Linked DNA regions of Homo sapiens: all the other regions are linked to region 1. The links are contacts of gene promoters, found by promoter capture Hi-C in human tissues and cell types (Jung and others, 2019). All regions are on one chromosome and are shown on one strand. The core of a region is centred on a gene start or on the middle of the fragment in contact, and the rest is flanking DNA. Distances in the headings are between cores, read along the strand shown.

Evidence for each region. The method cuts DNA at HindIII sites, captures the fragments that hold promoters and counts their contacts. A contact is called where the count stands out against the background at its distance.
Region 2: a contact is called between a fragment that was not itself captured here and the fragment with the promoter of TBX4 in region 1, in 1 of the 25 tissues and cell types used here (dorsolateral prefrontal cortex).
Region 3: a contact is called between a fragment that was not itself captured here and the fragment with the promoter of TBX4 in region 1, in 2 of the 25 tissues and cell types used here (lymphoblastoid cells and mesenchymal stem cells).

What each region holds. Positions count from the first base shown.
Region 1 is chr17:61,450,050-61,455,035 of GRCh38, forward strand. TBX4 (T-box transcription factor 4) reads left to right here and starts at 2,373. Exons shown (of 9, transcript NM_001321120.2): 1 at 2,373-2,528. LOC124904042 (a long non-coding RNA gene) reads right to left here. Exons shown (of 2, transcript XR_007065872.1): 2 at 3,193-4,986. RefSeq lists enhancers at 2,343-3,184, 3,985-4,866, 4,867-4,986. The HindIII fragment of the contact is 13,471 bases long and covers 1-4,986 here.
Region 2 is chr17:60,695,600-60,700,585 of GRCh38, forward strand. The region is part of intron 4 of BCAS3 (BCAS3 microtubule associated cell migration factor); the gene reads left to right. It also overlaps the pseudogene RN7SL606P. Among named protein-coding and RNA genes, the nearest start is that of BCAS3, 20 kb to the left of the region's middle. The HindIII fragment of the contact is 6,409 bases long and covers 1-4,986 here.
Region 3 is chr17:60,811,613-60,816,598 of GRCh38, forward strand. All of the region lies in intron 7 of BCAS3 (BCAS3 microtubule associated cell migration factor), which reads left to right. Among named protein-coding and RNA genes, the nearest start is that of BCAS3, 140 kb to the left of the region's middle. The HindIII fragment of the contact is 3,690 bases long and covers 1,058-4,747 here.

The DNA of each region.
Region 1 (4,986 bases), core at 1,123-3,622:
TATTTTACATACGACTAAGAAGAAAAAACGCTGCTAATTAAGCTATGACACACCGCTAGCTATCAGATGCATCTCAGTTTCAGAGATACCAGAATGTGAAAAATGTGTGTCTTAGAGTCAGTTAAATGAGGTATTCCATTCTAATAATGGGGAATGTGCATACAGAACCGCTCTCATTTACTCACTTGCTGGCTGGTTTGCCCCTTCCTTTTTACTGCCAAAAGCTTACCTGTCCCTTCCATATCTCATTTCTCCATGTCATCATGAACCTGTTGATATTAATTTAGACTGTCTGCCATCAGTCTCCAGAAAGCCTTGCACTTATAGGAAGGTTCCAGTCTAGTTTGTTTGTTTTTGTTTGTTTGTTTTATTAAAGAACTATACGATACGATCTCAGTATGAACTTCCTCCAATGACTGTCAACAAATTCTTTCCAGAGTCTGGCCTAGCTCTAGTCTTCCCATAGTACCTGGTGATTCACTGCCCTCCCTGTTCACCATTCCACACAGTAGTTGGTTGCTTAGTCTGTATACTATTTATTTGCAAGGGATTTCCCTACAGGCTGTTGGAGAGGTCATGGGAGGGGGCTTGCGAGCAGAAGCTGAGGCATGTCATCCAGGTCTCCCTAACACAGGAAACACGACTCCCCAGGCATCTCCTGAAACGCCAGGGCCTTCCCTTTCTCCATTCCAGGAGTCCGCAGGTTTGGGGAAGGATTCTGCTCCTCCACTCCTCTTAGATATTATTTCCCCTCCCTGGTTTGAGACTCCATGAGAGGAATGGTGATAGGGTGGTGGGACCTGGTACTGCAATGGTGATAGGGACTTGAGCAGCGGCCCACTGTTGAGGTGGATTTCAGGCTCCTGACAGCAGCAGCGACTGGCTTTTCTGAGTTGGCGTTTTTGCTTCCACCTTTGAGTGCAGGGTGGTAAAGAAGGCATTGATGCTGGCTTTCCATTTCCTAGCATTAGAACAGGGACAGACCCATCCAGGAAAAGAATTTCCCTGTCCTCTCCCCTTCAAGCTGATTTTGAGGTCAGAATCTGGAAAGGGACAGAGGCTGGTTGAGGACACTGGTGGAGGGAGGGATGCAGCCCATGCTAAGCACTAAGGGACCACTCTGGGGATCCTTATTGATGAGGATTCTGCTGTCTTTGCAGATGGGTGGGCAGGCCTATTTCTGCCCCAGGATTCTGGGCATGTGACAGGCGGGGAGGCTGGGGCACGGGCTGGGGTCCGCATGGGTCCGTCTGCTAGTGGAAAGGCAGCGTCCTGTGGGAGGTACAGACAGAGAGAAACAGAGGTAAGTGGAGACAGAGAGCTCAGAGGCTGGGCAGGGAGGTCTAGGTGCTGAGCGGGACTCCGTTTCTGAGGCGGAAAGAACCGGGTGGCTGGGAGCAGGACGCTCCCCAGTCTCCACTTCCTAGACTAGGGCAGGCATTGGGCTTCCTCTTCAGCTCTCCAGGATCTCAAGGAGCTGCCGCGGAATCCTGGCCCTGGGCCGCAGTTTCCCCAGGAGGCTCTGCCAAGCCTGGCACCTTGCAGCCCGGCCTGGGCTCTGTCAAGGCCCGAGCCGGACTCGGCTCCACTCAGAGGCCGGCCCAGCACTTCCCTGCCGCCGCCGCCCCGCACCCGGCCACCGGGCTTCCTCCCAGTCCTCACCCCTGACCTCCGCGGCCGACTTCGAGGCGCGCCAGGCCGGGTCCAGCGCCCGCGGCCCCCTGGGCCGGGACAAGGAGGGCGGGTGAGCAGAAGGGCCGTGCCCAGGGCCTGGAAGTGCAAGGCCGCGTGGTGGGCATGGTAGGGAAGCGGAGCGTGGGCCTGTGAGGCGCGTGTGCGCCTGCGACCTCGGGACCGGGGCTCCCAAATGAACAGCGCGCACAGCTGGGAGCAGGGCTTGGGGAGCGGGGCTCTGCGGCCGGGGATCCGTAGAAGCCGCTGCCTGGAAGCGGGCGCCGGCAGGGGGTGGCCAGACCCGGTCGTGGAGCGTCCTAGTCTTCGGGCACGGCGGGGCCAGGCGAGCCCTCCTGGTTGTCGAGCCTCGGCTGAGAGCCGGGCTGCTCGCCCTTGCTTCCCGCCTCTCTAATCTAAACCATGCGGGGCTCCCAGCCCCTACCCGGCTCGCGGGGCCCGAGGGCCAAGAGGAGGGCACTGGGCCGCGCGGTGGAGGAGCCGGCGGCTCGCGTGGGGCTCGGGATCTTGGGGACCGCGACGCCGGGGAACCCTGGAGCCCCCCTCCCCGGGGGACAGCGGGCGCAGACTGATTGACAGCGGCGACGTCAGCGCGGAGGGGGGGCGGCCCCAGAGGGAGGGAGGGAGGAGGAGGGAATTGAGGCCCCAAAGTGCAGCCTTGGAGATCAAGGGCCCGCTCCAGAGCCGGGATGTGTCCAGCCCCGAGGGCACGGCAGGCAGCTGGACCCTGACCCAGCGGCGCGGAGTCGGAGCCCCGGCCGTCCCGCGCTCCTCGGACCCGAACCTGCAGGGGACCTCGGGCCGCTGGCGCCTCCGCATGCGGCACCGCAATTAGGGTGAGTGTGGGTTCCAGCCGAGTGGGGACGAGCTGGGCGTGCGGGGCTGGGGCCACAGGGGCTCAGGGTTAGGCTGCGGGGACGGACAGGAGGATGAGCTGGAAAGGGGTGAGTCACGCGACCCGGGGAAGAACTTCAGGGGCGGTCAAAGTTGCAGGAAGGCGGCGCGAAGTGCCTTGGGTCGGGCCGCCGCCTCGGCCCGACACCCAGTAGTTGGGGCACGAGCCCTCCTCTCTGAGTAACGCGATGAATTGGGTCTAGAGATCCAAGAGCATAGAAATATCGACAGCGCCAGCACCCTAAGAACAAGGCCGTGACAGGCGGAGCGGTGGCCTGGAAATTGGTGTTTGCAGAATATGCAAGGCCAAGGAAGAGGGCCCCGGTACTGGAGCGAAAATCCGTGTAGATATGTGAGTGATCAGAACACTAGACTCAGAGCCTTTGATGCAATAGACTAGTCAAAATTAAAGCAAGGAACATTATATATAAATAATGATCGATGATTAAAGATTATTGGAATGTGAACAATTACCAAAGAAAGGGCTAATCGGCATAACTGATATAACACGTGAACTTCCAAATAATACAATCATAGTCACTTTCAGAATCAAGTGAAAATAGTAATCACAATTTTTAAAAGGATTAAAGACAAAGTAATTCTAAATAGAGGAACAATGTAAGGACTGTTTATTAAAACCAATTGCACTAATATAACATATAGTAATAGTGTAACAAATTACCAAACTGTAGGAAACTAGCAAACGAACTGTAGGAGAAAGATGAACAATGAAAATACTATTAAGGGAAATACTATTAGTGGTAGTGATATAATAATATAATGTATTATTGATACTACAGTGAACTATTAAAAGAAATATTAACTAAAATCTTAGGAGCAATAGTAATATAAATAAAGACATATTAACAAGAATTGCTGGAGTAATATGACAATTTATGACCAATGTATTAATAGTCACAAGAACATTATAAATAATGGTTGAGTAATAAGAAGTATTGTACCAATGTGATGAAAAATAATCAGAGTATTAAGAGCTACAACAATATTACAAAGTATGACAAAATAACAAGAAGTAATGATGTGATGAGTAACTAGCGAGTTCAGATCTGTAACATTACAAATAATGACAAAGTAACAAGATACTGTCGGGGTGTGTTGAAGAATAATACCTGGAGTGTTATGAGCAAGCCTAACAAAACAAATTGTGGTTAGATAACAAGAAGTATTATAAGGATGTGAGGGAAATTAACATGAATTTTGAGAACAATTATATAACAAGTTATGGTAAACAAGAAGTTATTGAAACAGCGTGACAAAGTATAATCAAAATGAAGAGCAAGCAACGGAAACGTATTAGGGATACAAAGCAAGAATAAAAAATTACAATAGATTAACGTGACCTATTGTTCACTATGTCACCTCGATATTGGAAATAGTATTATGAATGTGCCAGGCGGCCCTGAAATGATGGAACAGTGACAGGAAAACAACAAATTTAGTAACAGTAAGCTAACGAATCAAAGCAGGGCTTTAACCATACAGTATTAAAGATACAAAGTAGTAATAATCCACGCGATAGGATATTCTCAAAGTTCCCGAACTGATCAAAATACTACTATGGTAATAAGGACAATTAAAATATTTTAAAAAGCACGAAATAGTAACAGTTCCCCTAGTGCAAGAAACATATCCCCAGTAACCTAAAAATGAAAAGAGAAATGCTGTCGTCTTTGGAAAACGAGGCAGCTGAAAGCAACAGACCCCATCGCAAAGGCAGCGGAGGTTGCGGGCCGCACCCGCGGAGGAGTGGATGTGAAGGACGAGAGCGGACCGCTATGCGGTGCTGAGTGCGGGACCCCGCGGTGCTGGCGGCGGCCGAGCGCGCCCAAGCTCGAGGTCCGAGAGGACCGCGAGGACGGCCGCCCCGGGCCAGCCGGGCGTGGAAAAAAGGAAATTGCTGGGAAGGGGGCAAGCTGTCCCGAGGTCTGGATGTGGCTTCGTGGCGGAGAGAAAAGGAAGAGGCAAACCCTGAGCCCGGGAGGGAGAGCACTGAGCAGGCCTCGTCCCCAGTCCGAGCTGCGGGACCGGCGTCAGTGGACGCGGGCGGTGAACCAGCTCCTCACAGGGCAGGGCTGAGCGCGTAGGACTGAGAGCGCAGGGCGCGAGCCGCAGGGCTCCGCTGCACGGCTCCGGGTGTGACAAGAGCCCAGCAGAGGACCCCATGGCCATGCGGGCCAAGCGCGAGACGGCCCCTCCTTGCGACCCCGCAGGCCGCCACATCTGGGACCAGCGGATCGCTTGGTCGCTGGAGCCGATCCCGCCGGGGCCCTAGATATAGTTGGACCCAGCGCGCTGGCCGGAGCGGGCAGCTACCCTACTGGCGCAGCGGCCCTGTGTGGGGACTCCTAGGTTTCCGAGGCTCGGCCCGCGTTCGCACGT
Region 2 (4,986 bases), core at 839-3,338, 750 kb before region 1:
TTTAAAATTTTATTTTTAGAGACAAGTCTTGCTGTGTCATTCAGGGTGGAATGCAGTGAAATGATCACAGCTCACTGCAACTTTGAACTGCTGGGCTCATATGATCCTCCTGCCTTAGCCTCCCAAGTAGCTAGCACTATAGGCACATGCCACCATGCCCAGCTTATTTTTAAATTTTTTGTAGAGATGAGGTCTTGCTATGTTGCCCAGGCTGATCTTGAACTACTGGCCTCAAGGAATCCTCCTGCCTCAGCCTCCTAAAGTGCTGGGATACAGGCATGAGCCACTGTACTTGGGCTCATAGGGGATTTAAAAATAATCTACTCATGGATCTGGGAAAGATTGGGGCTTCATACTTTTAATCTTTGTCCACTTCTTGTCACTACTTCTTTCTGAATGTTTGCATCTCTTCTTTGACTTCTTTAACAAAGAGACAGTTGGTGCAGTGGTTACTCAAAGCTCTTTATTCATACCTTTATGATTATATGATACAATCAAAGAGGAAAAAGTATTCATTAGGAGATCCAGATGGCTCAGTCTGAGTCACTCTCCCATTATTGGAATAGTTGCTGTGGCCAAGGATGTAGTACTAGAATTGCTCAGCTGGTCATGTGCCTATCCCTGTGCTTGATGGAGGATAAGATTAGTTACCAGAATAGAGGGAGTTACAGAGTAGAAAGTGTGTGAGGTACACAAAGGTAATAGCTGCTACAGCTGGGCACAGTTGCATGCACCTGTAGTCCCAGCTGCTCAGGAGGCTGAGGTAGGAGAATCGCTCGAGTCCAGGAGTTCTGAGCTATAATGTGCTATGCCGATTGGGTGTCTGCACTAAGTTCAGCATCAATATGGTGACTTCCCAGGAGTGGGGAACTACCAGGTTGCCTAAGGAGGGGTGAACCAGCCCAGTTCAGAAACAGTTAAAACTCCCATGCTGATGAGTAGTGAAACTGCATCAGTGAACAGCCACTGCAGTCCAGCCTGGGCAACATAGTGAGACCCCATCTCTAAAAGAAAATGCTGCTATCAGCTTCTATTGCTTTAGAAGCTTGGGTCCCTTAGCTACCTGAAGATGCCTCCTAGACATCCTCACATAGATGTCCCACAGATGCCTCAAACTCTGATTTCTTTTCCCATCTAATTGTCTCTCCTTAGCAGCTGTGCACTGACCCTATTTACCTTTCAGGTCATTAAAGCCACAGAACTTTTCATGCCTCAGGATCTTTGCAAAGGGGACCCTCTAGGTGAAATGTTATTTTCTGCCCCTATCATTATTTACCTTTTAGAGTGTACAAAAATGACTTGAAAGGCTGGGCGCGGTGGCTCATGCCTGTAATCCCAGGACTTTGGGAGGCCAAGACGGGTAGATCACTTGAGCCCAGGAGTTCAAGACCAGCCTGGGCAACATGGCAAAACCCCATCTCTACAAAAAAATATTAAAAAATTAGCTGGGTATGGTGGTATGTCCCTGTAGTCCTACCTACTCGAGAGGCTGAGGTGGGAGGATTGCTTCAGCCCAGGAGGTCGAGGCTTCAGCAGGCTGTGTTTGTGTCACTGCGCTTCAGACTGGGTGACAGGGCAAGACCCTACCTCTGAATGAATGAATGAATAAATGAGGGAGGGAAGGAGGGAAGGGAGGAAGGAAAAGAAAGAAGCAGGTTTGGGAAGAAAGATTCAGTTTTGGCTGGGCGTGGTGGCTCATGCCTGTAATCCCAGTGCTTTGGGAGGCCGAGGCAGGTGGATCTCCTGAGGTCAAGAGTTCAAGACCAGCCTGGCCAACATGGTGAAACCCCGTCTCTACTAAAAATACAAAATAAATAAATAAATAACTAAAAAATAAGCTGGGCATGGTGGCAGGTGCCCGTAATCCCAGCTACTTGGGAGGCTGAGGCAAGAGAATTGCTTGAAGCCAGGAGGTGGAGGTTGCAGTGAGCTGAGATTGCACCACTGCACTCCAGCCTGGGTGACAGAGTGAGACTCTGTCTCAAAAAAAAAAAAAAAAAAAAAGATTCGGTTTCACTTTACACCTTGACTTTTGAGGTGTGAATAGAAATCCAGTATCCCTATCCTCCCACCAGTTGCAAACAGTCTTCTAAGGAGGGAGAGTATACTGAGTGCAGTCATGGAAGATTCACAGATAAGTTAAGACTGGACAAGGTTTTGAAGGATGGGTGAATCAAAGGAAGGGAGGACATTGTAGTTGGCTGAAACCATGCAAGAATGCTAGATGTCTCTATAGGAAAGACCGTAAAGTTCAGATTTAGAGGTAGAATAAGAAAAAAGAAGCCAGTAAAGAAAATAGGCCGGGTACGATGGCTCACGCCTGTAATCCCAGCACTTTGGGAGGCTGGGGCAGGCAGATCACGAGGTCAGGAGATTGAGACCATCCTGGCTAACACGGTAAAACCCCGTCTCTACTAAAAATACAAAAAATTAGCCAGGCGTGGTGACGGGCGCCTGTAGTCCCAGCTACTCGGGAGGCTGAGGCAGAAGAATGGTGTGAACCTGGGAGGCAGAGCTTGCAGTGAGCTGAGCCGAGATTGCACCGCTGCACTGGCCTGGGTGACAGAGCGAGACTCCGTCTCACAAAAAAAAAAAAAAAAAAAAAAGAGCAGCAGTGGAGAAAATAAATAGTGATTCTATGATAGAGGATATAAAATGAAAGGAAAGCCAAGGAAAAAGGATTTACTTAAATGTATAATAACTTTGAGGAATAATATAACATTTCTACAAAATTAAGGTTTTTGTTCAAGAACAATAAAGTCTGGCCAGGCCTGGTGGCTTATGCCTGTAATCCAGCACTTTGGGAGGTTGAGGCAAGAGTACTGCTTGAGCCCAGGAGTTCGAGACCAGTCTGGGCAACACAGTGAAACTCTGTCTGTATTTACAAAAAGAAATAATAATAAAAGAAATCTGCTGTATCACCACCATCCAGAGAAAGTGACTAAGTGAAATCTAAAATAAGAAAAAGGAGATTTTGTATATATTATGACCTCAGGGGTTTTATGTGTGGCATTTGAACCTGGGATCAAGATGGTACTTGTGGTAGAAAGATGATTGGATTGAGTATCAAAAAGCCCTAAGATTTCTCATTCAGTTATGAGTAAAGTATACCTAACTTGTTTTTGCCAATGATAAAATGAAGTTGACCTCTCTGCATATAAAAAAGGATTCCAGGGCCAGGCACAGTGGCTCACGCCTGTAATCCCAGCACTTTGGGAGGCTGAGGCAGGTGGATCACCTGAGGTCAGGAGTTCAAGACCAGCCTGGCCAACATGGTGAAACCCCATCTTTACTAAGTAATACAAAAATTAGCTGGGTGTGGTGGTGGGCATCTGTAATCCCAGCTGCTTGGGAGACTGAGGTGGAGAGAATTGCTTGAACCTGGGAGGCAGAGGTTGCAGTGAGCCAAGACTGCATCACTACACTCTAACCTTAGTGACAGAGCGAGACTCCGTCTCAAAGAAAACAAAAACAGAACAAAAAACAAAACAAGAACAACAAAAAAACAGGATTCCGTCTCAAAAATAAATAAAACAGAATTGATATGTCAGATTTGATGATGTACACAAAAGCACATAGAAACTTATAAAACACCATTTGTTTATTTATTTATTTACTTATTTATTTATTTATGAGACAGAGTCTCACTCTGTCCCTTAGGCTGGAGTATAGTGACACAATCTTGACTCACTGCAACATCCGCCTCCTGGGTTCAAGCAGTCCTCTTGCCTCAGCCTCTCCAGTAGCTAGGATTACAAGCATGCACCATCACGCCCAGCTAATTTTTGTATTTTTAGTAATTTTTGTATTTTAGTTTCAGCATTTTGGCCTGGCTGGTCTTGAACTTCTGACCTCAAGTGATCTGCCCACCTCAGCCTCCCAAAGTGTTGGGATTACAGGCGTGAGCCACCACGCCCAGCCAAAAACACCATTTGAATGTCAGGTGTAAAAATAATTATGCCCTAGGTACATAAGTTTATAATTCTGAATTTTGCTGGATATGGAATCATGTACTATTAACATGGCAACAGTGAATTCCTGTCAAAAGAAAATGGGCATTAAAGAATTACTGATGTATTAGCCATTTAATAATTTTGATTTTTATCTTTGAGAATAGGAAGTCATTAATACGGGAGATGGAGGTAAAGAGGTATGTCATTATTGGTGTTTTAAAAAGAGCAGTTGGCTGGGAGGTAGGGATTGCAGTGAGCCGAGATCGAGCCACTGCACTCCAGCCTGGGCGACAGAGCAAGACTCCGTCTCAAAAAAAAAAAAAAAAAAAGAGCAGTTTTGGCTGGGCTTGGTGGTTCACACCTGTAATCTCAGCACTTTGGAAGGCCAAGGTGGAGGACTGTTTGAGGTCAGAAGTTTGAGACCAGCCTGGGCAACAGAGTGAAATCCCATCTCTACAAAAAAATTAAAAAAGTAGCCAGGCATGGTGGCACGTCCCTATGGTCCCAGCTACATGGGAGGCTGAGGCAAGAGGATTCCTCGAGCCCAGGAGGTTGAGGCTGTAGTGAGTCATGTTTGTGTCATTGTACTCCAGTTTGGACAACAGAGTGAGACCCTGTCTCAAAAAAAAAAAAGAAGCAGTTCAACTCTTACGTGAAGTTTGGTGAGCAGTGGTGGAAGCAGGAAGCCATGTATGCTTTTGGAGTAGCTGTTGTAGCTTAGACAGGGTGGTGGTGGTGTAAGAGGAATGAAGAGAACTGTTTAGGAAGACACAGGGACTTGGGATAGATTTACTGGTATAGGTGAGGAAGAAAGTGGTTCCTGGCTTTGCCAATGGGGTAATGATGCTTTTCACCAAAATAAGGGACCCTGGAGGAAAATCAGGCTTGGTGAGGAAGTCATGATCTTTGAGTGGAGTTTGCACTCCTGTGGAGACATCCAAACTCTATATTGAGGAAGTCACTAGCAGATACTAGTTGAAGTAATGGGTGGAATGAGTTAACCTAGGAGAGGATATATGGTAAGAAATGGAAA
Region 3 (4,986 bases), core at 1,653-4,152, 640 kb before region 1:
AGAACTAAATGAACTATGTATAAAGAATTAAAGGAAAGGGTTATAGCAATAACTCAACAAATAGATAATCTCAACAAGGAGTTAGAATTTATATAAAACTCAAATGGAACTTCTGCTGTTGAAAGGATATAAAAGATATAGAAAGTGAAATAGGCCTGGATGCAGTGGCTCATGCCTATAATCCCAGCACTTTGGGAGGCCAAGGCCAGCGGATCGCTTGAGCTCAGAAGTTCAAGAGCAGCCTGGGCAACATGGTGAAACCCTGTCTCTACCAAAAAAAATACAAAAAAATTAGCTGGGCATGATGGCACACGCCTGTGGTCCCAGCTACTTGGGAGGCTGAGGTGGGAGGATTGCTTGAGCCTGGGAGGCAGAGGTTGCAGTGAGCCCAGATCTCACCACTGCACTCCAGCCTGGGTGACAGAGTGAGACCCAGTCTCAAAAAAAAAAAAAAAGTTCATAAGTTGTTTTCATAAGTTGTTTTATGGATGTAGACCTAATATGTCTTGTTGTTAAGTTTTTGTCTAAATGTTTGTAGTAGGTGAGCATATGGTGATGTTGAATAGAGTAGACTCTTTAGTAGCTACTGTTGGGGAGGAATACTTTTCTCTCTTAAATTCTTTGGGGAGAGGGCTGCAATTTAAACTGACGAAAGGCAGATTAGCAAGAGGACAAAAAATCAGATTTAATTACATATGTACATATAGGAGTTTGCAAAAAAATGTGACTTAAGGTGGCTTATATATCATCTCAGTAGGAGATGGGGATGGAGAGGGACACAATTTGTAGAAGGGCACATTTTGTAGAACAAATGACTTCTTAGAATGGGAGCAGAAGGAAGGGCACTTGTGACTTTTTGGAAAATTAAGGTGGTCCTTAGGAGAAAAGACAGGAGATGTGATAGTTTTGTAACAATATCTGTTTGGGAGTGGTCCTAGAAGAGATTAAGTTGCTCCAGGGGAGGAGATTTATGACAAATGAAGTTTTTTGGAGGGCTCTGCTCTGCTTTTAGGTAGATAAAGTATACTAGGAACTTGAGTGCTATCAACAATCCATGAGTCAATACATACATACATACATACATATATACATATGTACAGTTGAGTTTATGACAATTAAGTTTGTGTGTTCATTTATTTATTTTAGAGACAGAGTCTCCCTCGGTCACCCAGGCCCAGGTGCAGTGGTCCAATCATAGCTCACTATAATCTGGAACTCCTGGGCTCAAGAGATCCTCCCATCTCAGCCTCCTGAGTAGCTGGGACTATAAGTTATGCCACTGTTGGGCTAATTAAAAAAAATTTCTTTTTTTAAGAGATAAGTTCCCACGATGTTACCCAGGCTGGTCTTGAACTCCTGGCTTCAAGCAATCCTCCTATCCCAGCCTGCCAAAATGTTGCAATTACAAGTATGAGCCACCACATCTGGTCCAATCATATTATTCTTATTTTATGCATGCAGAAGCTAATAGAGGTTCAGTCACACAGTTAGTCATGGACCCAGGCTTTTGCTTGACCCTCAAGCTATGTTCTTTCCAGTAACCATACTGTTTGTCATTATGGAGGGCATTCCTCTATACATACACAGGCATATTCCGTCTATAGACTGTATTAAGAGTGCCCTAACCTCAGATTTATATATTTACAATTTTCTGACCAGTTATTTTCAGAGGTAACAAAGATTTCTTAAAAAAAAAAAAAGGAGGTTATGTTAGGAGCAATTAAGCAATTTGTTTATCCCTGCCAGAGTACCTAGGACTACAGGTGTATGCCACCTTGCCTGGCTAATCTTTGTATGTCTTCTTTTGAGAAGTGTCTGTTAATGTCTTTTGCCCACTTTTTAATGGCATTGTTTTTTGCTTGTTGAATTGTTTAAATTCGTTATAGATTCTGGATATTAGATATTTGTTGGGTGCATAGTTAGTGAATATTTGTGAATCTATAAATATTCACAAAAAATATTCACTACAGATATTCACAAACTGTGCATCCAACAAAGGTCTGTAGATTGTTTGCTCTGTTGATAGTCTCTTTTGCTGTGCAGAAGCTCTTTAATTAGTTCCCAATTGTCGATTTTGTTTTTGTTGCAATTGCTTTTGAGGACTTTGCCAAGGCCAGTGTCCAGAATGGTATTTCCTAGGTTTTCTTCTAGGATTTTTATAGTTTAGGGAGTCCTTTCCCCATTGCTTGTCATTGTCGACTTTGTTGAAGATTAGATGGTTGTAGATATATGCAGCTTTATTTCTGGGTTCTCTTTTCTGTTCCATTGGTCTCTGTATCTGTTTTTGTGCTGGCACCATGCTGTTTTGGTTACTGTAGCCTTATAGTATAGTTTGAAGTCAGGTAATATAATGTCTCAGCTTTGTTCTTTTTGCCTGGGATTGCTTTGGCTTTTCAGGCTCTTTTTTGTTCTATATGAATTTTAGAGTAGTTGTTTTTCTAATTTTGAGAAAAGTGACATTGGTAGTTTGATAGGAATAGTATTAAATCTATAGATTGCTTTGGGTAGTTTGACCATTTTAACAATATTTATTCTTCCAATCCATGAGCATAGAATGTTTTTCCATTTGTTTGTATCATCTCTGCTTTCTTTCAGCATTGTCTTGTAGTTCTCCTTATATCTTTAACCTTGTTCATTAGATGTATTTCTTGGTATTTTGTGTGTGTGTGTGTGTGTGTGTGTGTGTGTGTGTGTGCGCGCGTGCCCATTGCAAATGGGATTGCATTCTTGATTTAGCTCTCAGTTTGGACGTTATTTGTATATAGAAATGTTACTGATTTTACTACCTTTATTTTTTTTTATCCTGAAACTTACTGAAATTTTTTATTAGTTCTAGAAGCCTTTTGGTGGAGTCTTTCGGGTCTTCTAGGTATATAATCATATTGCCAGTGAAGAGAGATAATTTGGCTTTTTTCTTTTTTCCTATTTGAATGCCTTTTATTTCTTTCTCTTGCCTGATTGCTCTGGCAAACAGTAGCTTCTTAAGAGAGTCTTTGTGTTAGGCGTATATTTTGATGCAGTGTTTCTGCATAAGCAAAAGATACTTTTGTTATTTTAGTACGTTTGACGTATACCATTTAGTTACTTAGAATTTTTCAGTGTGGAAAAGGACTTCTCCAATTTTATTTTAGTATTTTTTTCTTCATTTAAACACATTGTTTAATGAATTCAAAGGAAGTCTCCTTTACATGATAGCAATAATATAAGAAGGACATGGCTATTAGAAAATTGTGGTCACTAATTTCAGGAACACTATTATTTAAAAGTCCTGTGCCTTCTAGATTCCTCAAGGATCTAGAACTAGAAATACCATTTGATCCAGCCATCCCATTACTGGATATATACCCAAAGGATTATAAATCATGCTGCTATAAAGACACATGCACGTTTATTGCAGCACTATTTACAATAGCAAATACTTGGAACTAACCCAAATGTCCATCAATGATAGACTGGATTAAGAAAATGTGGCACATATACACCATGGAATACTATGCAGCCATAAAAAAGGATGAGTTCATGTCCTTTGTAGGGACATGGATGAAGCTGGAAACCATCATTCTCAGCAAACTGTTGCAAGGACAAAAAACCAAACACTGCATGTTCTCACTCATAGGTGGGAATTGAACAATGAGAACACTTGGACACAGGAAGGGGAACATCACACACCGGGGCCTGTCATGGGGTTGGGGGAGGGGAGAGGAATAGCATTAGGAGATATACCTAATATAAATGACGAGTTAATGGGTGCAGCACACTAACATGGCGCGTGTATACGTATGTAACAAGCCTGCACGTTGTGCACATGTACCCTAGAACTTAAAGTGTAATAATAAAAAAAAAGGAAAAAAAAAAGTCCAGTGCCAACTTATGTCCAATACAAAGTAATTTCAAGAATGGGCAGATTCCTTCACCTGCTTCCAGTTTTTTAAATAAAGTAACAAAAAACAGCAGGCAACTGATGATGTAGAACAGAAGATGTAATGCTTCCAAAATAATTTAAGTTAATGAGACTCAGTTTATAGGCATAAATATAGGTGATACGAGGAACCATTCAGGGAGCCAATGAAGTCTGAAATAATGGAAAGAGTAGGAGAATACATAGTTACAAGACAGCAAATAGAATAGTGACTGCATCAAATGGAGATGGAGAAAGCCACACATAATCATGAAGTGTCTGCTTAGAGACATTCTTCAGTTTCACATGTACCTTGAGAATGTTTTCTTTATCTTGCCCATCTTTATTTCTTTCTTGGTATTAAGCGCAGTGCCCTATATCTAGGAGACCCTCGAATATATATATATTTTGCCTAAGTGAATTTTAGGAAGCTTCCTATACGAGTAGTTATACTCATCCTTTATTTTTTAGTATCACTTTTTTATGACTGAGAATATCTCTTAATCTAAGGAATCATATGTACTGTACCTGGGTATTTACATTTTCGTAGCCAGTTGGGTACAAAACCTTAGGACATCCCTCCATTTGGAGAGGAGTGGGATGTCCAGGTTGCTCTCCAGCTCCCTGGCACATACTTTATTGAACACCCATGTAGTTTAGACTTTGTCAAGTTGCTTATATTCACAACTAATACTGCCTATTAAATTATTCTTGGGAAAATTCACTAAGATTTTCTTTTGATGTATAACTTTTCTTTCTTTTTCTTTTCTTTTTTTTTTTTTTGAGACGGAGTCTTGCTCTGTCGCCAGACTGGAGTGCAGTGGCGTGATCTCAGCTCACGGCAACCTCCACCTCCCGGGTTCAAGCGATTCTCCTGCCTCAGCCTCCCTAGTAGCTGGGACTACAGGTGTGCACCACCACGCCCAGCTAATTTTTGTATTTTTAGTAGAGATGGGGTTTCACCATTTTGGCCAGGATGGTCCCGATCTCCTGACCTCGTGATCCGCCCGCCTCGGCCCCCCAAAATGCTGGGATTACAGGCGTGCACTACCGCGGCTGGCCAGCTTTTCATTTTTATAAATTCATAG